Regions from separate parts of the Homo sapiens genome. Here region 2 is linked to region 1. The links are contacts of gene promoters, found by promoter capture Hi-C in blood cells and fetal thymus (Javierre and others, 2016). All regions are on one chromosome and are shown on one strand. Each heading gives the region's core, a stretch centred on a gene start or on the middle of the fragment in contact. The rest is flanking DNA. Distances are from core to core; before and after follow the strand shown.

Evidence for each region. The method cuts DNA at HindIII sites, captures the fragments that hold promoters and counts their contacts. A CHiCAGO score of 5 or more calls a contact.
Region 2: a contact is called between a fragment that was not itself captured here and the fragment with the promoter of ACAA2 in region 1, in 1 of 17 cell types (monocytes). The highest score is 5.1, in monocytes.

The regions. Positions count from the first base shown.
Region 1 is chr18:49,810,716-49,815,560 of GRCh38, forward strand. ACAA2 (acetyl-CoA acyltransferase 2) reads right to left here and starts at 2,818. Exons shown (of 10, transcript NM_006111.3): 1 at 2,754-2,818. The coding sequence starts at 2,769. It overlaps SNHG22 (small nucleolar RNA host gene 22), which reads left to right and starts at 3,308. Exons shown (of 4, transcript NR_117096.1): 1 at 3,308-3,347. It also overlaps SCARNA17. RefSeq lists silencers at 2,611-2,730, 2,624-2,918, 3,161-3,330. The HindIII fragment of the contact is 2,119 bases long and covers 2,070-4,188 here.
Region 2 is chr18:48,527,572-48,532,416 of GRCh38, forward strand. No RefSeq gene overlaps it. Among named protein-coding and RNA genes, the nearest start is that of CTIF, 9.0 kb to the right of the region's middle. The HindIII fragment of the contact is 3,607 bases long and covers 823-4,429 here.

The DNA.
Region 1 (4,845 bases), core at 1,568-4,067:
TTCACTCTGTCACCCAGGCTGAAGTGCGGTAGTGTGATCTTGGCTCACTGCAGCCTCAACCTCCTGGGCTCAAGCAATCCTCCACCACAGCCTCCCGAGTAGCTGGGACTACAGGCGAGTGCCACCATGCTTGGCTAATTTTTGTATTTTTTGTAGAGACTGGGTTTCTCTATTTTAAAAAATAATTTGTTATTATTATTTTAAATCTTCATTTTAACAAATAATCTGGGATGTGCAGATAGACTATAAAGGTTTAAAGTTTTTTTTTTTTAATTTCATAAATTGTATACCATGTCAATTTTCATTTGATGTCAATTTTACGTGGATACTAAAAGGTCTAAAACTTAACAATCTTTAACACCAAACTGAAATCTCATTTGAACACCCTGAAAATTCAGAGGCTAAAAATTTCCCAAAACTGAAAGACAGTGAAGAGACCTATTAACCCAGAGTGTAGTGAGTCCAAGTAGCTCCAAGAAAGGCCCTGGAAAGATGTGCTGAGTTGACAATACAGGAAAAGCACCACTAGGAAAGAAACAGGAGCACTACCTTTCTATCACATTGTTAGGTAAATATTCACTTAGAGCAACTTCAGGCAGCAACGAGGGCAAATTAAGGAAAGCTGCGGTGGCATCCAGTTGTTTCAAGATTAAGGTAATTTAGCAGCCCTGTCTACTTGCCTTGAAAAAATACACAAACATTCCCAACAAAGCTAGGAGCAGTAGGAGAGCTATGATCTGTCGAGCGAAAACCTCCTGCCAAGTACTGGGATGGGTGCTAATAAAAACCTAGGAGCCGGTTCTTCTTGTTGACTGAAATCTGACAAATTAATGTTAATCCTTAACAAAATTTAACTCAAATGTGTCCTTTTCCCTATAATCAGTCACATGCTCTTCTTTCTTCCCACCCATCCTGCAAACACTTGGTATGCTGCTTGAGAGAAGTTTATCTTTAATGATTCTAGCTGGCCTGTAACATCACTATTTCAAGCTCAAAGCTTGGGTTCTAGTCACAGCCACTAACTACCTGTGTTATTATACACAACCACTTTACCTCTCTCGACATGAGTGTCCTCCTAATTGCTACAATAAGGAAATGGAAAAAAATACGATCACTAGCTCTAACACTACAGTAAATTGTACCAGAAATTTATAAACTTTATACTTCCTTAATACAGGTGTCAATGTGCATTTTTTTCCTTTTTGGGTTTATAGTATTTGTGAAATTTTCAAACAGGTCTGTATTATAAGAAAGGGTAAGAACCACTGATAAAATATTAAAATGATATCAGTAAAAATATTATTTCCTTTTTTAGAAGATAGCTCATGACAATGCACCTTTTAAATGAAGTGTAAATGCCTCGTCTAAAAAAAATTCACCACGCTGCTTTATGAAGTAAATGTAGTAAATTCAGTCAGGAAGGGCACTGGCAAATGAAATCCACGTTGCAGGAAACTGTAAACACTGCATTTGGTCCCAGAATACGGATTTTTCCCTTGATTTGTTCCCATGCCACTTTGGTTCTTCTCACTTTCAGATCCCCCTAACCAATGCTTAGCTGGCATCTCCACTTGGCTGCTTCACAGGCACCAAAAAGTTTTCTGCCTAAAACTGAATTCTCAATCCTTCTTTCCACATCTATTCCTTTCCCAATTTTCCTCACTCTGTAAAGTGGCATCATCATGAACACGGTTCATCAAACCAGACACTTTTCATCATTCTCGACATTTCCTTCTTATATTTACTCCACCACATCCAATCCACTTTCTATCAAATCCACCTCCAAATCTATCTCAACTCATCCCTCCCCTTTTCTCCCCAATTACACTGCCCCACACGAGTCAAAGCCATCATTTGCTGCTCCCTGGACCTCTACAATAGATCCTTAAATGGTCTCTTCGCCATTACACAGACCGCCCCAAATTCGGACAGAGTGGAAATCAGATCCTGTCATTACCCCGCTTTAAATCCCTGTATTGCCTTCCACTGAATTTGGAACAAAACCCCACCTTCTTACAGAGCCCACAGGGCCCTGGAGCACCAAAATGCTTGGTTCTTAGATCCTGCCAAGCTTTTTCCTGTCTCAGGGCCTCGATATGTATTCCACCTCAATGTTCTTCGACTCGTACATCCTTAAAGTAAGATTCCATTGACTGTGCCCACTTGTTTTGAAAAGGGAGTTTATTACACAGTTGTTTTAAACAAGTTCATAACCCTAGAACTTAGGTATAGAGTGACCGCTCTAATCTAAAGCAACAGAAGGGAAATGGGAGCAGGGCAGGTCTTCCAGCAGAACACCAGCTACCATTTCTGCAGGCCTCTCCATCGATTCACCCGGGGAGCCCTGACCACCGAGGCCGAGCGGCGGGCTCCTGTGCGCAGCTGCCCCGCAGCAGGCGCCCGCGGCCTATGGCGCCGCCCCATTTTTTCTAATACTTGGACTCGAACTAGTGGGGTCACTGTTAGGCGAAGAAAGGAATGACCTCCAAGGTCACATGCAAGCAAACTTTGGTCTCAACTAAACAGGAAATTGCACCGAAATCGCTGTCGCTAGCGCCTTACAAGTAAGGGTTTTCTCCTTAACCCAAACAAGCCTTTCGGGCTGGGTTTTTATCACGTCCGCTCCAAAACCGAGGAGGTTGAGTGAACTTCACCCCACGACCCCGACTCTCCGCGGCGGCCGGAAGCGGAGGCCTGGCCTGGGGAGGGCAGGACCCCGAGGGGCGAGGAGAGGAGGAGGGGGCTGCGCTCACCTCGGAGCAGAGCCATGGCGGCTGCTGGGTCGTCGGCGGCGCGGGTCTGTGGTGTGGGGGACGCTGAGCGGCCGCTCGCAATCACCCAGATTTCAAGAGCGTGGGTGGCGCCCCGAGAGCCACGCCCCTGCCCTTTCACCTACTTCCTGGGGCTCCTTGGCGGGGTCCCAGCGTAAGATGGTCCTACCCCACGCGTAGCGCTGCCCGCCTCACCCCAGCCCGAGGGAGCCCAGGGGACGGGGCTCGGATAGACCACAACGCGCCTTGAGAGCGGACTCTTTCCTCACATCCTCATTTTTAGATTTTCTCCGTTTCCAAACCGAGAGAATTTGGTTTGACACCTCTCACCCATCATATCCTAGCCCCGACAGGCGATGACTCTTCCCCTTTGTCTCCGCCAACACCCTAAACACTGGGCAGGAGCCAAGGGCTGAGGAACTTGGCGCGCGGGCGGCCGCGGCCGCCAGCTGGGGGCGGGACCGAACGTCCTGTGGGCGGGGCGCGGCGGCGGCGGCGGGATTGGCTGGGGCGGGCGGGTGCGCAGTCCGCTGGGCAGAGGCTTGGGCCGCCGAGCTGGACCCGGACCGGTTTTGGGTACTGTACTGGGGGCAGGGCAGAGAGGTGGGCGGCAGTTGGGGTGCGGTGATTGTAGTAGGCTAGGGCGCTTTCGGGTCCCCATTGCAGCCCCCGGATGAGCCCGCAGTATTTTCCTTATATGATCAGGTCCCATTGCGGGCGGCGCCGCTTGCCCGGAGCCTGAGAGGATTATGAAAACGTGGCGAGCGAAATGGGGCCAGGGGACCTGGAGCAGGGGCGTGAGGAGAGTAGGCAGCGGGTGAGGCTGGACGGGAGGGAGGTCTAGGGAGGCCTCTGCCGCGGGCACTGTGAGTCCTGGCCGATGATGACGAGACCACTGCGCAATCTGAGTTCTGGGAACCAGGTGATGGAGTATGTTCTGAGAACAGACTGAGGCCGGGCAAGCAGGAGGCGGCCGCGGCAGGGGAGAGGCGGAGAGCCCCTCGATACCAGGGCTCGGAGGGCCGGGCTGCCTAGCGAGGGCTTCTTTTGAGTGCGTAGGGGTGGTGGGTGGCATGGACGGTTTCTCTGAGTCGTCAGCGAATGCCCCCCCTAGAATCCTGCTTTTCAAACACTTTGGTGACACTCTTGCAATGTTGGGGTGTTTTTAAATCCAAATTTGTATTATGAAAACTTACAAACTTACAGAAAAGTGGGAAGACTTGTACAGTGGACACATATCGACCCAATTGTTAACATTTTGCTATATTGCTATCCACCTGTTCTTCCATCAAACCATCTTATCTTTTTAATGCAGACCTTAGTACTCTACACCCATGAACACATCAGCACACATTATTCATTTACAGTTCTTTTTAAGGCAAAATATCCACGCAATCAAATGTACAAATCTTAGACAAGCTTCACAAATGCTCATGTATAGGCCGGGCGCCGTGGCTCACGCCTGTAATCCCAGCACTTTGGGAGGCCGAGGTGGGCGGATCACGAGGTCAGGAGATCGAGACCATCCTGGCTAACACGGTGAAACCTCATCTCTACTAAAAATACAAAAAAATTAGCTGGGCGTGGTGGCGGGCGCCTGTAGTCCCAGCTGCTGGGGAGGCTGAGGCAGGAGAATGGTGTGAACCTGGGAGGCGGAGCTTGCAGTGAGCCGAGATCGTGCCACTGCACTCCAGCCTGGGTGACAGAGCAAGACTCCGTCTCAAAAAAAAAAAAAAAAAAAATGCTCATGTATAGAGTGTTCATTTTTGTACACAGTTTTCTATTCAGTTTGCCTCTACATATTTAAGAAAGGTTAAGTATCACAACTTCCCACTGCAGATCACCATCAGTAGGTCTTTATAGATGTACTGTGTTTTCTCTAATTGGAAATGTCACTAATGAGTGGATTCTAACACCATTCAGTGAAAGGTTTACATATATTAAAACACGTAAATATATGAGAGAATATTGACATAGTCTCCAAGTCTCATGAAGAGGAAAGGGTACCTTTACAATGGATAAATCTTGCGGGTATTACTTCACCAAATTATGAAGTAATGGTGTCCCATCACCA
Region 2 (4,845 bases), core at 1,376-3,875, 1.3 Mb before region 1:
TGGCAATTATGAATAAAGCTGCTATAAACATTTATGTGTAGGTTTTTGTGTGGACATAAGTTTTCAACTCATTTGGGTGAGTACCAAGGAGAGCTACTGCTAGATTGTATGATAAGAGTGTGTTTAGTTCTGTAAGAAGCTGCCAAACTGTCTTCCAAAGTGGCCGTACCATTTTTCTTAATGTGGAGAGAAATCTTCCTTAAGCCGCTGTAATTTGTATCTCTGTTATTAGCAGCTGAATGCAATTCCTAATTGATAGGGTGGGAATGTGTTACTGAGTGCTGATTAGCTGGACAGAAATCTTACACCAACACACTAAAAAGTCAGAAGTAACTGCTGATCTAGTCATGCGTTCTTACCCATCAGCATTACTTTTTTTCATGAGGTCAGACAAGATTGTCAGATATATAACAAAGATATGACTGTGTTCTAATTTTCTATTAACATTATGATGATAAGAAAAGATTGGCTTGTCTTTTTATTTAGGTCCTGTTAAGGAGTCTCCACATGATTACTTCTTCGTAAGTGCTTGCAAACTTTTTGTTTAATGATCTGTTCCCGCTGTCTTTTGGCATTTTTCTGGTCTTCATAATTCCACCAAGATTAAGGATAGTGGTTTGACAGTTGGGTCTACAAATCCTGTCCTAGTTGGAATCCTCAAATGCTGAAGTGAGCAAATATTCCCCATTATCATTATCCAGTAATCAAAATCATTTTAGCGACTTGATTTGGCTTCATGCTGAGCAGTAGATGTGTTCTGGGGGAAAACTATATATACATCACATTGTTATAAATTAATTCCTATTTTAAATGAACTGGGAAAGCTTGTCACAGCAGAGGATAATGCAGTGAATCCTTCTATAAGGCAAATAATTCCATTATATGAATAATCACCCTCTAATTTAGTTCTCTATGAATATGTAATGTTCAAATAATGGGGATTTCAGGGTTTTTTTTACATATGGAGATTAGAGCTGAATGTTTGCTTATATTCAATTCCTCTTTTCTTTTTTTAACATCATCATCATCATTGTCTTCAATGTTGTTTGTTGTCATCACCAGGAAAGGCACCAAATTTTAGAAATACATGAAAAGAGCTGCCTTACTAGAGGTTGTCTTATCCACCAATAAGCAGGTCTTGTTCTGTGCTGAGGAATCCTATAGCTTCCTCAGTGTCTACATTCAATGGTACAGAATGATTACCTGGTTGTGTGACCTTGGACAAATCACAAATTATATAAACTCTCTGGGTCTCAGTTTATTCATCTGTAAAATGAGAATGATGATGGCACATTACTCATGGGGTTGACTTGAGGATCAAATGTGGCAACATAGAGTGTCTATGTTATGTGTTCAATTAATGTCAGCTATTATAATTGCTTTTCGAAGTCGTATTATCATTAAACGTTCAGGTTAGACAAGCCCTCCCCTTAAAAAAATAACTATGACTGCATCACACCCATTAGAATGGCCACTATCCAAAACAAGCAAACAAATAAATGGAAAATAACAAGTATTGGCAAGGAAGCAGAGCAATTGGAACACTCGTGCACTGTTGTGGGAATGTAAGATGGTGTAGCCACTATGGAAAACAGTATGGTAGTTCCTCAAAAAACTAAAAGTAGAATTACCATATAATCCAGCAATTTCCCTTCTGGGTATATATTCAAAAGAAATGAAAGCGAGGACTCAAAGGGGTATTTGTAGACCCACGTTTGTAACAGCATGATTCACAACAGTCAAAAAGTGGAAGTGACCCAAGTGTCCATCCATGCACAAGTGGGTAATCAAAACGTGGTATATACATGCAATGGAATATTATTCAGCCTTAAAAAGAAATGAAATTCTGACACGTGCTACAACAGGGAATAACCTTGAGGGCATTATGCTAAGTGATGTAAGCCAGTCACAAAAGGACAAATACTGTATGATTCCACTTACATGAGGCACTTAGATTAGCCAAATTCATATTAACAAAATGTAGACTAGTGGTTTCTAGGAGCTGGCGACAGAAGAGAATGGAGAATTGTGTTTTGGTGAGCACATAGTTTTAGTTTTGCAAGATGAAGAGTTTTGTTGATTAATGCTAGTGATGGAAGCATAACAGTGTGAATTTACTAATGCCAATTTTAAGTGTGCAGTAAGCATACAATTAAATGTTTAAGATGGTACATTTTATGTCATGTGTATTTTACCATTTTTTTTAATAAAAAGATTTTTACTATTTTAAAATTATAAAATAACCACCATGATTAGGAGTTTTCTATACCTAGGAAATGGGAACACATCCAGTGGTAGAAGATTGTAGGGAATGGAGAAGTGACAGTGTGGCCAACCCAGAATGCTCTTTAGCAGAACTGAATGCCTGTCATAGCTGACAGATGAGCCACTCAGAACATGCTTGCATTTGTCAATGATCCCTCCAGCTGACTCCACAGTCGACTGGTTTCACAAAGCATAACACTGGTTGTGATTTGTGTCTGGGTAACCACAGCTTCCAGAGATGGGCCCTGTCCAAGAAGCTGGTATTCAAAAATTACAACTCAATTGATAGGAGAAGAGTTCACTGGTACTGGCTTAGTAATTAAATTGCGAGGTGATTATTAGTCTGCTCAGGCAAAAAGATCACATGTGAGTACTTTAAGTAGCCTAAGACTAAAAAACTCCTCCCAGAAAAAAAAAAAACAAACCTGTAACTAAATTCATACCATTTTCTGCCAATTATAGATGCCCTCCAGTGACTTTAAGGTTGCCACAGCAACATGCCCACTGAAAGGTTGTCTTAGTCCATTTTGTGCTTCTATAACAGAATACCTGAGACTGGGTAATTTATAAAGAGAAGATATGTATTTCTTACCTTTCTGGAGGCTGAAAGTCTAAGGTATAGGGGCCCACATCTTGCAAGGACCTTCTTGCTGTGTCATCCCATAGTGGAAGGTGGAAGGACAAGACAGCACACATGAGCAAGAGATCAAACTCACAGACTGAAGCCCTTTCATAATCAGCATTAATCCATTATGGGGTGGAGCCATCATGACCTAAACACCTCCTAGTAGGCCCTGCCCCCCAACGCTGTTGCATTAGGGATTAAGTTCCCAACACATGCTTTTTGTTAAAAAGAAATGTGTTAAATAATGCATTGGGACATATTCACTATAGCATAGGGCATGATTGCTAAGTCCTGAAATATATGGATATAGCAAAGAGAGAATGTTTCACATCTTATCTCTGTGTCAAGCCAAAATTTTCTTCTAGGGGTAGGACAGGTGAACTGTCACCAGGCAGCTCTCCTCTCTTCTGTGGCGCAATCTGAGGTCCCAAGCTGGCTTGCCACCTCTGCCACTGCCCCACAGGGAGCACAGCAGCCCGGCATTTCCCCTACACTGCTCCCTTCCCCTGGGTGGTCTCCCAGTCCACATAAGCTAATAGGCATCCTCCCTTGTTTTTCTGAAAACCTCCTCTGCCACCTCTCCCAAGCAGGGTTCCCTGACCAAGTGGCAGCTTGGTGCTTTCTAGAGCAGATCCCATTCAATCACCTAGCTCTGCACAAAATAAATTCAAAGGCTTCACACACCCTTTGCCTTTGTTCAAGTCCCAGACTTGCTGAAAATCAGCTGACTCCTGTGAAGGTGATAATGGGGAGTAATGCTGTGAACCACACTGATACTGAAGACACATTCCAGAAAGCTGCTGATGAGGCAAAATTTGGTCTATCAGGTCTGACATTGCATGTACCAGACGTGCTGCTACTTAAAGAAATGATGGCTACTTCTTTTGTAAAAGGGATAACCATCTTACAAAGTGTCTTTTGTGTAAATTTCTATTTTTATATATTAGTAGGTACATTTTAGAATTTAAAAAGCTGTCTTGAGTCATTTCTGGAAAGAGTGGAGTATAAACAAATCTGATAATTTTGCCAAAACGGAAAAAGAGGTGGGGTGAGGGTAGTGGATCTGCATGTGAGAAAGGGACAGAATGACAGCTCATGAAGAACCATGAGAACAGATCCTGATTCTGCAAGTTCTACTGAACCCTCAGAGGCCCTGCTGAAGATGAGGATGAGGATTACTGGGATTAGGGCACAAGCCAGTGTTGGATCTCACAGTCTGGGTCAGGCTGGGAGTGGCTCCCACAGTCTGGGCCATACTCTACTGTCTACCCGCATTATAACTGAAAAACAAAATCTAATCTCACCCTCTTGAGTCATAGAATAAAGTCCTAATTGGTCAAAACTTTTGTTCCTGGTCCCACACAGCCTATCACTTGGGTAACAGCAAAAATAATAACAATAATAACCAAAAAATAAAACCTGGTGTTACTATAAGTCCTTACTATGTGTGAAATGCCTTGTATACATCATCTCCTTTAAGCCTTATAATGACTTACTGAGATATGTTCTATTATTTCTCTCTTTTGTAGAGGAAATGGAAGCTTAGAGTTGCCCAAGGTCAAGTGGTGATAAAAGGGGAAGGCAGGATGCAAATCCTGGTGTCTGCCTCCTGAGTCCAGTCTTGAACCAATGACACACAACTAACTTTCTGGACTTCGTGCCTCCTCCTCCCCATTGCTCAGCCCCTCCCCGATGTGAGTTCCCACTTCTAAGCTCCTGCCTGCCTATCACTGGGAAAGCCCCCTTTCCAGCCCTGGTCCCATCCTATCACACTCATGCCTGGCTCGGTTCCACTTCTCCCTTGAATGTCTCTCTGCTGCTCTAGCTTACAAGGGTTGCCTTTTCCCTGAACAATCACTCTGTCTATATTACACATATGGCACACCTTGGATTTTAATATTTTACTGCCATTTCTGTTTAAAATGTGTATGTCATCTGAACTAAACTGTGAGGTT